Linked DNA regions of Homo sapiens: regions 1 and 3 are each linked to region 2. Evidence: promoter capture Hi-C in 16 types of primary human blood cells and fetal thymus (Javierre and others, 2016). All regions are on one chromosome and are shown on one strand. Each heading gives the region's core, a stretch centred on a gene start or on the middle of the fragment in contact. The rest is flanking DNA. Distances are from core to core; before and after follow the strand shown. Region 1 holds the start of STT3A-AS1 (STT3A antisense RNA 1). Region 2 holds the start of PRDM10 (PR/SET domain 10). Region 3 holds the start of PUS3 (pseudouridine synthase 3).

The links. Contacts are between HindIII fragments. The CHiCAGO score rates a contact against its expected background, and 5 or more counts as called.
Region 1: the fragment with the promoter of STT3A-AS1 here is called in contact with the fragment with the promoter of PRDM10 in region 2 in 1 of 17 cell types (naive CD8 T cells); the score reaches 8.0 in naive CD8 T cells.
Region 3: the fragment with the promoter of PUS3 here is called in contact with the fragment with the promoter of PRDM10 in region 2 in 1 of 17 cell types (naive CD8 T cells); the score reaches 5.5 in naive CD8 T cells.

What each region holds. Positions count from the first base shown.
Region 1 is chr11:125,591,220-125,594,108 of GRCh38, forward strand. STT3A-AS1 (STT3A antisense RNA 1) reads right to left here and starts at 1,349. Exons shown (of 4, transcript NR_132372.1): 1 at 1,199-1,349. STT3A (STT3 oligosaccharyltransferase complex catalytic subunit A) reads left to right here and starts at 1,633. Exons shown (of 18, transcript NM_152713.5): 1 at 1,633-1,699. RefSeq lists enhancers at 618-787, 905-1,499. The HindIII fragment of the contact is 3,144 bases long and covers 1-2,509 here.
Region 2 is chr11:130,001,045-130,004,181 of GRCh38, forward strand. PRDM10 (PR/SET domain 10) reads right to left here and starts at 1,791. Exons shown (of 21, transcript NM_199437.2): 1 at 1,678-1,791. It overlaps PRDM10-DT (PRDM10 divergent transcript), which reads left to right and starts at 1,580. Exons shown (of 1, transcript NR_024233.1): 1 at 1,580-3,137. RefSeq lists silencers at 825-1,004, 1,035-1,084, 1,095-1,414, 2,125-2,514 and an enhancer at 1,925-2,014. The HindIII fragment of the contact is 10,759 bases long and covers 1-2,176 here.
Region 3 is chr11:125,901,675-125,904,737 of GRCh38, forward strand. It overlaps PUS3 (pseudouridine synthase 3), which reads right to left and starts at 1,532. Exons shown (of 4, transcript NM_031307.4): 1 at 1,496-1,532. DDX25 (DEAD-box helicase 25) reads left to right here and starts at 2,834. Exons shown (of 12, transcript NM_013264.5): 1 at 2,834-2,906. The coding sequence starts at 2,844. The HindIII fragment of the contact is 3,679 bases long and covers 1-2,244 here.

The DNA of each region.
Region 1 (2,889 bases), core at 99-2,598, 4.4 Mb before region 2:
AGAAAAAACTTCTTTTTGAGACGGAGTCCAGCTCTGTCGCCAGGCTGGAGTGCAGTGGCACGATCTCGGCTCACTGCAACCTCCGACTCCCTGGTTCAAGTGATTCTGTGTCAGCCTCCCGAGTAGCTGGGATTACAGGCACGCGCCACCACGCCCAGCTAATTTTTCTATTTTTAGTAGAGACGGGTTTCACCATGTTGGCCAGGATGGTCTCTACCTCCTGACCTCGTGATCCGCCCGCCTTGGCCTCCCAAAGTGCTGGGATTACAGGGGTGAGCCACCGCGCCCGACCAAAACTCGTATTTTGAAGAAGCATTTACTCCAAGTTCTGTAATTCCTTCAGGCTCAGCTTCAGTTTCCTTTTGTTAAAGTAAAATTACATCGAACACTTACTACTAAAAACAAAACCAAAAAAAAGCAGATCTATTGAATCATAACGTCCTGGGGCGAGCCTGGTCATGTGGATTTTGAAAAAAATGCATGTGATTCTGAAGCAGTGATTTAAATAATGACCTTTCAATAAGTGGTGGGTTCCGTTCATGGGAGAATAGGAAACTGCGTGAGTGGTAGAGGCAACAAGTTCGAAGAGCTGCGAGACGTTCCCACTCTCTCTGGTGTAGCCTTGGCTCACCGAGGCGCGCAGGGAGTGGAAGTGCCTGAGGATAAAGGTGTACACGTGCGAGTCTGAGATGATGGAATTGCTGCTCAAACTTCGTCCCCTTCTCTGCCCTCAGCAAACTTATTGGGGGTCGGGGAGCGCGTGGGGTGCGAGAGAAGAGAGGCAAGTTAGGATAGGGAGAGCGGCTCTCTGGCCGGTATTTTAACAAAGGGCTGAACTGACTAAGCATGGCCGGGCTGCCTCCCGGTCTCCCGAGGAAGCCCGCTTGCTGCTGGGGAGGGCTGTGCCTCCGCGGCGGTGGCTGTCTCAGCTGGCAGTAGAAATGCTTCCAGCTTAGCCCCGACAACCCCTTTAGGCCTAGGCACGCTCTTTCACAAAACCAGGGGCTGTGAACTCTGTCAAGGTTCCCAGGTCCATCGCAGTTACCAAGGCACAGTAAAAGCTCGAGTCAACTATCAGGCACATCCTGCAAAAGACGAACTGTCTGGACCAGTCCGCGTTTGAGTTTTAATTGAGAATAAATAGGTAGAAAATGCTTCCCTCCTCTCCTTTCACCTTGTATTAGGTAACAATTTCTACCTTAAAAAAGACGGGAGACGAGCGGCTCCGCATTCCGAGTTACTGGGACTTGGAGCAAGGGCCTATTTCAGCGTAGTTTCCGCTTCTTGTCACATGACGGGAGTCAGTGGGCCGCGCCTTCCCACTGCGACTCCCCGTGGGTCCGCAAACCGACACGTCACTCCTCGGCCCTCAACCAAACTGCTTGGGGCACGTTCTTTCCGCGCTCTTGACTCCTACGCGCCGGCCTATGACAGCTCGGCGGGAGCATACAGACCTGCCTCTAGACTGCTAAGTGATAGCTGTAATGACCAATTAAAAACTTGAATCGCGGCCCGGTTTACGCCTCCGGATTTGACAGACAGTTCCGAGACCCTATCGCTCTCCAGAAGCGTCCTATTGGCCTGGAGCCAGCCAACGGGGGAGCGGTCCGGGAGGCGGACCCGGCTCCTGCCAGGGTTGGGTGCGCCGCTGAACGGATGGCTGAGGGAGCCCCGCGGATCGTTTAGGAAAGCCGGCCAGGTGAGAAGGCCGTAGAACGTAACTTGAAAATCAGCGGCAGGTGCAGTCCATGGCGTTGATGGGGCTGAACGAAGTGCAGGAGGCAAAACTCTAAATGGGGGTGGAGAGCAGAGCTTAGGGCCTTGCAGAGGAGGGGGCGTGGGGCGTGGTGTGGGGGCTTCCTGGATGGAAGGATGCGAAGGTCTAGGGAGGGAGGGTAAGGTGGGTCTTGAGAACAGAGCGTGGGAAAGACTGGGTCCTGGGACTAGTTATGGAGGGGAAGGCGCGTAGGATGCTGGGGTGATGAGTGTCCCGCGCTGAGGGGTATCAGAGGTGGTCAGTTCTTTGAGGGTGGGAAGAAGAGGGAGGTGGGACCCGCTGGAACGACCGGAAGGGAGAAGAGAGTAAAAGATCGTGAGAGGGTGTGGAAACGTGTGTAGGAAAACGGGGCTGGGGAAATTGCAGTCTGGGAAACTAGAGGCAGGGTGGCAGGAGATGCCACAGCTTGCAGGGCACAGTTGAGGAGAGCAGGTTGGTAAGTGTTTTAAGAAAGGTGTCTTTGCTCTTATTTGCTTGGCGGTGTGCGAAAGTGACCAAAGAGCACGAGATGAAATCTCCCTTACGGCCCTGCCCTCAATGACTAGCTCGTTTACTCAAGTTTTCAAGTAGAGATCCTAGCAGTCTCATTTTGGTGTGTGGCTCGTATCAACGCAGTGGTGTTAAGTTTGTTCCTATTTCAGGCATTCCAGAAAACAGCTGCAAACCCTGAGAGATATGGCTGGATTGTTGACCTCCTGGAGTAGTTAGGCCTTTATTTTTAGTTGCAAAGTAAGCTTTCCCTTTGGGACTATACTTAAACACATTTCTAAACTGCTCTTCTGGGACAGTTAATTATGGAGAACATGCTTGACTTCTCAGTGTTGGGGCTAGCATTCTATATGCCTTCCACCTAGTCCAGTGTTGTTGTTGTTTTGTTTTTCTCCTTTATTCCAATAATAGTGGGAAAAAAGATTCATGGAGGAGGATAGACAAACGTTTGTTAAGGGATACACAAGTACAACTAGATAGGAATAAATTCTAGTGTTCTATAGGATAACTATTATTAGGAGTATAATTAACAACAAAAATACACAATTTGTTGTATATTTTCAGATAGCTAGAAGAGTGGATTTTGAATATTCCTAAGACAAAAAAAATAAGGTGATGAATCT
Region 2 (3,137 bases), core at 541-3,040:
GGCAGTGAGCCAAGATCGCGCCACTGCACTCTAGCCTGGGCAACCAGAGACCCTGTCTCCTAAATAAACCTAGCAAAGTTCCTTTCTAAATACCCCATATTGAATAAACACTGTTTAAACGCTGCTTTGCCCCCAACCAATCCTAATTTTAAAAAAAAATCTTGTTTTCTCTATTCTAGAACAACAAATAAGTACTGCTCATCAAAGTGGAAGCTATTGTGATGCTGGAATGGTAGGAAGATACAAAAAAAATACAATGTAATAATACACCTTCTTGCCTTACAGCGATGGAGGAGTGATAGAAACAAAGAGAACAGGTCAGAAAAAGAGGCCACAAAACAGTCATGAGTGATTCTGCTGTTTTTAATAAAGGTTAAGTACTGCTAAGTTTAGAGAATTTGGGGTGACGAGACAGGCAAGGTTTCAACAGGCAAAGCAGCAGAATTAGGGCACAGGGCAGAGCTGGGTGGGTCTCATCACACATCTAATCCTCGATGACAGCACAAAGCCACCTCTCCTTGTGCTTAAGTGTACACGCACATTGATTGAAAATGCACTAAAATCCAACTCATCCACCAAGCAAGGCTAAAGGCGCGCACACAAATTCAACAGCGCTGCGTTCGCGTGGCTGGAGGGCAGACGGGGAATATTCCATTTTACTTAGTAGAGTATCAACACCTAGCTGCAGGGTTAAACCTGCTTAACAAAAGCTGGCGAGGGGCTGGAGAGGTGCACACCATCAGCCCTCTCCCGAGCGCCGACCGGCCTCGCCCTGCCTCTGCGCTGCACCCTGGGTGCAGGCGGACTGGGGCAGGGCCGCGACCCCGGCCTCGGCCTCCGCCTCCGCCCGGCCAGCCCCGACGCGGTGCCACGGGACAGACCCGCAGGGGCCACCCCACACCCCTGCGGGCCGGCCCCCCGCCCCGGTCCCGGACGCTAGCTTGGGAAGGCAGGCCGGGGGCCCAGCCATCGATGGCAAGTGGGCGGCGCGGCCTCCGCAGACAAAGCTGGGCGCCCCATCGAACAGGACCCTCCGCCCCACGCGCCCGCAACCGGCCAGCCCCGGAGCCCTGCCCGCACTGCCACCCCCAGCCCGGCGCCCGGCCCCCAGCCCCCGGTGCTCGGCTCCCGGCCGGCGGAGACCTGCCCGCCGCGCCCGGAGCGCCCGCGCAACCGCCGCCGCCGGAGCGCGCAGGCCGCCCAACCGCCGTCCCGGCCCAACCAACGCGGGCAGGGGAGGAGAGGTGCGCGCGGCCGGCGGAGCGTGCGAGCCACTCGGGGGTCGCAGGGGGAGGCTGCGCGCGGCGAAGGCAGGGGCGACGAGACGCCGAGGCCGGCGCTGAACGCGGCGCCAGGAGGGCCTGCTGGAGGGGGCCTTGCCCTCTTCCCCTTGGAAGGTGCAGATGGTTTGACCCCCCACCCCGAGTGAGGTGCCTCGTCCCAGCCCCGGCTGGACTGTACCATCGGGCGGTGCCGCCGGGATTTCTCCCCCCCACCACCACCATCAATTCCCCCCCCACCCGGGTCCGCGGTCGGTTGGCCCCGGCCGGGCTCTGAGACGCGGAAAGAGCTGGGCGCCATTTTGGGTGGGACTAAGCAAAGACGAAACACCCTCCCAGTCTATGGGGTAGTCTGGACCCTGGCTTATCTGGTTCCCTTAATCCTTTAGGTACTTACACGACGTTGGGTGAGGGGAGCTGGAAGATCAGCGGGTCCCCGATCCTCTCTCCCTAGGGGTGATAGAAATCAACCCCCCCCGCCACCTCCAGGTGGTTCTTCCCGCCGCAGAGTGGGAGCAGCATAAAAGGCGGGGTCTTATTAGCATAATCTGCCTGGCAACCTGATCTCGACGTTATATGATTGGTTAAACTCTGTAAGCCCCATGCCGTGCCTAGAGACGAGAAACGCTGGGGCGAACTGACAGGCCCAGATTTAGGAGTCATGACGAAGATCCTGAGACGCTTATTCAGTCTGCAGAGAAGCCAAAAGGAGATTCACATAATGGCCCAATGACTGAAGGCCTCTTTATTTCGTGCTCTGCTGTTCGTGTAAAACCCAATCGCAGAGCGGGTCTCAGGCGGCGCTCGCCTGCGTTTCTACTCTCAGCCAATCAGAAAACCCGACTCTTCGCATTGGGGTCAAGCCCCCGCTGCGGCCCGCGTGCTAACGGGGAGGAAGCTTCCAGCTGTGCCTGGGTGTCTCGGGCGCCGAGGGCAGCCTGCGCCCGTGCTAAGCCCGCCTCCCGCGCGCCCGAGGGCCCGGTGTCCCGGAAGACGCGCGGGGGTGAGGCGGCCCTCGCGTCCGCCCGCCCCGCCACAGATTGCCTCCGAAGTGGCCTGGCCGTGGAGCGCCGGCGAAAACCGAACTCCCGCCCGGCTCCCGGAGTCGGGAGCCTGCCGGGGTCTCGCCCTCAGGACCCCCAGGGAGCGGCCGGGCGCCGCCTATCACCCTGACCCACCGCACCTTGAGAGCGCTTTCACTGCGCCTCTTTTTTCTCCTCTACCAATCTGGAAAGGAAGTGAGTGTCATTTCAGACATTGAGAAACATTATTCAACACTGGTTACCCAGTGACTCAGCTCACTCCTTAACCGCAGGCTTCCACATCCTGCTGTCCCTTAAAATTGCCTTCACAAAGGGCAGCCAAGAGCCCAGCTTTGGAGAGATACCCAGCTCCAACTACCCACTGGCAGGCAATACGCAGGGCAGCTAGATGGCAGAGAGACCTTGGACCTTCGGACCTTCGGGGAGCGGTTTTCCCTTCGGTGATATCTACCTTGCTATGTTCGTGATATCTACCTTGCTACGTTATTTTGAAGATTAAGTGAGCTCTTACTTTACCGAGTAAAGTGCTTTGCTTAGCACACTGTCTGGAACTTAAATGAGAAGTACTGACAATATAACTTACAAAAATCCTAAACTATTGCCTGAGAAAAAGAGGGAGACAGGACAGCTAAGCAAAAGACGAGAATAGAAAACACCCACAGCGTGAAAAACTGTAAAATTAACTCAATAGTATTCTCTTTACTGTTTTTTGTTTTGTTTTGTTGTTTTGTTTTTTGATACGGAGTCTCGCTCTGTTGCCCAGGCTGGAGTGCAGTGGTGAGATCTGGGCTCATTGCAACCTCTGCCTCCCGGG
Region 3 (3,063 bases), core at 282-2,781, 4.1 Mb before region 2:
AGAAGTAATCAATGACTCAGGTACATGTAGGATATACTCACCGCAAAAAAGTAGAAACTGCAAACTGTCCACCAACAGTGGAATAGTAAATGTCTTTAAAGACATTAGAATATTAAATAGTCATTGGGAATCTTGGGAAAGTAATATGGGAAGGTGAAATTAAGTGACATGAATGTATCATAAACTATACAGGATGATCTCAGTACACACAGGGAAAGATCAAAACCTAACGAGTAGTGGGATTAAAGGTAATTTGTATTTATACCTCGACTTTTTATGAGGTCAAAAATTACATGGTGATTTTAACATGCAAAACACTCCAGTGATTATTTGGATCTCAAAGTCCAACATTACCAAAGTCTCCAAAGTTCAACTCCCGTGCTAACTAAAGAACTAGGCCAGGGAGTGAGTCTAGTTGGTCATAAGGCAGATTTGTGGCAAAAACAGGACTTGGTACACTACAGTGCTTTTTCCAGCACACCTTACCCTAATTCAGGGTGAAGTGCAGGAGTTCCCAAGCAGACGTTTAAAGTAACACCCTGGCCAGGGCTGCGAAGTAACCACAGAGAGGGAATTCGTGTGTCCCCTAAGCACCAATTACAAACTAAAACGGCCATCACCAGATGTTCCATACATTGGGCCAGGCGCCGTGGCTCACGCCTGTCATCCCAACATTTTGAGAGGCCAAGACGGGGTGGTGGCGGGGGGGAGGGGGGGTCGCTCGAAGTCAGGAGTTCGAGACCAACCTGGGCAACACAGCGAGACCGTGTGTTAATTAAAAAATTAAAAACTAGGCTGCCAAGATGGCGCACGCCTGCAGTCCCAGCTAGTTGGAGGCTGAGGTGGAAGGATCGCTTGAGCCCAGGAGGTAGAGGCTGCAGTGAGCAGTGATCACGCCACTTCACTCAGCCTGGGCGACAGTCTTAAAAAAAAAAAAAAAAAAGTCCTAATCTCAGGAACCAGTGGGTTAACACATAAATAGCATTCCTCTTGATAAACTTTATATTAATCCAAAGGGAAGAAGAGGGAGTACTGTCCAAAGGATTAGCAGACACGCACTATGATCACTAGAAAGCAATCGTGGTCTGTATGTAAGGCAATCCCCAAAATAATTTGAAAATTGCTGCCACAGCCTCCCACATACTCCTGGGTTCTCAACTTCTACTGTTTTATGAGCACCCAATTCTAAGTGGGGCAGCAGAGCACTTTTGTACTCCACAGTACAAGTACCACTGAAGCTCCCGTCACAACGGAATTAAAGACGACCCTACTGCGGCGAGTTTCCACCGAGAGCTCCAGAAAGTACCAGGCACAAAAGAAAAATACATGGTCTTAAGCGAGGTCTCATTTCCATACGGCAATGCTTTCCTGAAAAGACCAAAGTATGTGAAAGAGGGCAAAAAGAAGACAACAGACAACCGTTCAGCAGTGTGTCCATTTGTCCCTTCCCCTGTGGAACCCAGAAAGTAACCCACTCCAAAAATCCCACACTTACTTTCCGGCAGCCGGCCGCGCCGCGTTTCCGAGAAAGGAAGCTGTCACTGTGCGTCTTCTGCGCAGGCGCCCGAGCCCTCATGGGAGGTGTAGTCCAAGTTTGTGGGAAATGTAGTTCTGAGAACCGAGCTTGGTGCTAGAATCTACCTGAGGTTTTCTAGTCCAGCTACCGTTTCTCCGCCCACAGGGCAGAATCTGGGCCTGTGGCGGGACAGCAATAAAAGGAGGAATTGTAGTGCTACGCTAAAATAATAGAAAAAAGGTAATTTTTCAAATTCTGCTATCCTTATACGAAAACTAAAAGATTGAAGATCTTGGCTCGATTTTATACCTAGTTAAATGAGAAGAAAGTTACCATTGAGAGACAAAAACATTTACTATTAGAATTCAAATTAAAAGCTGAAATGAATATGATAATCTCAAAACAAACGACTAGGTGCCCTGAGAGTGACCGAACAGAGCGGGGAGCGTTGCTTCAGCACCACGGAGAGATCATGACTGCAGTTTCGTGTGGGTTTTTGTATTTTTGCCCCCAATTCCAGAAATGCTGATCAAAATCTCAAAATTACAATTAGAAAACTGGGGGGCGGGGGGGAGGTGGAATTTGGTTCTTTCGTCCAAATTGAGCGGTCATTAAATCATTAGTACCAGGGATCCAGGGATCTATACCGGATTATGCAAACGCATGTAGGACGTAGAGGTTATACCGAAAGGTAATGTTTTTAACAAGAGACCACATTTCAGAATAAAAGCTTTAAAAAGCCTATGTGGAACATCACAGGTATCTAGGGCAGGAACAGCAGTTAGAGCTTGAACAGTTCTGCTTCCTTTCCGCAACTGTGGCATTCGAGGTCATTCGTCATATCAAATTCATCAGATTTTGTCTCCACTTTGCTAACCAATTCGCTAACCTTTCTGACATCTTGTGATGTGGAGGCGGAAATTTCCAGGGAAACCGACACGGGGCGTAAAGCGCGGCGGGGAGTCCGGGGGGCTCCCGCCTGGAGGGCTGTGTGAGCGGCGGGCCGCGGGGCGGCGCGGGGGGCGCTCTCCACTCTGCGGAAGCTGCCCCCTCTGCCCTCCGGTCCGCGCCCTTTCGCCCCGCTCTCTGCCCTCCGCCCCGCTCTCTGCCCTCCGCCCCGCTCTCTGCCCCCCGCCCCGCTCTCTGCCCTCCGCCCCTTCCGCGCGCCACCCAGCCTTCCAGCGCCTGCGCGCCGCACCGCGGTGGTCGCGGGCGCGGACGCGGACGCCTGCCCCCTAAGGAAGCCCATTGGCCAGCGGATGGGGCCAGCACCGCCTCGCGCCGGTGGTGGAAGCACGTGCTGGGGGCGGGAGCAGCAATCGCAGCCATGGCGTCGTTACTGTGGGGAGGCGACGCAGGGGCGGCGGAGAGCGAGCGGCTGAACAGCCACGTAACCGCCACCGAGCCGGGGGGCCACAGCCGCGGGGGTGGAGCTCCCACTCGCAGAGGGAGATCGGCTGGGAGGGGAGGGAGAGCCCGCGAGCGTTCGAAGTGGGGCGTCAGATGCTGGAGGGGAGATGCGGGAAGGGTTTGGAAGAGGGCCACAG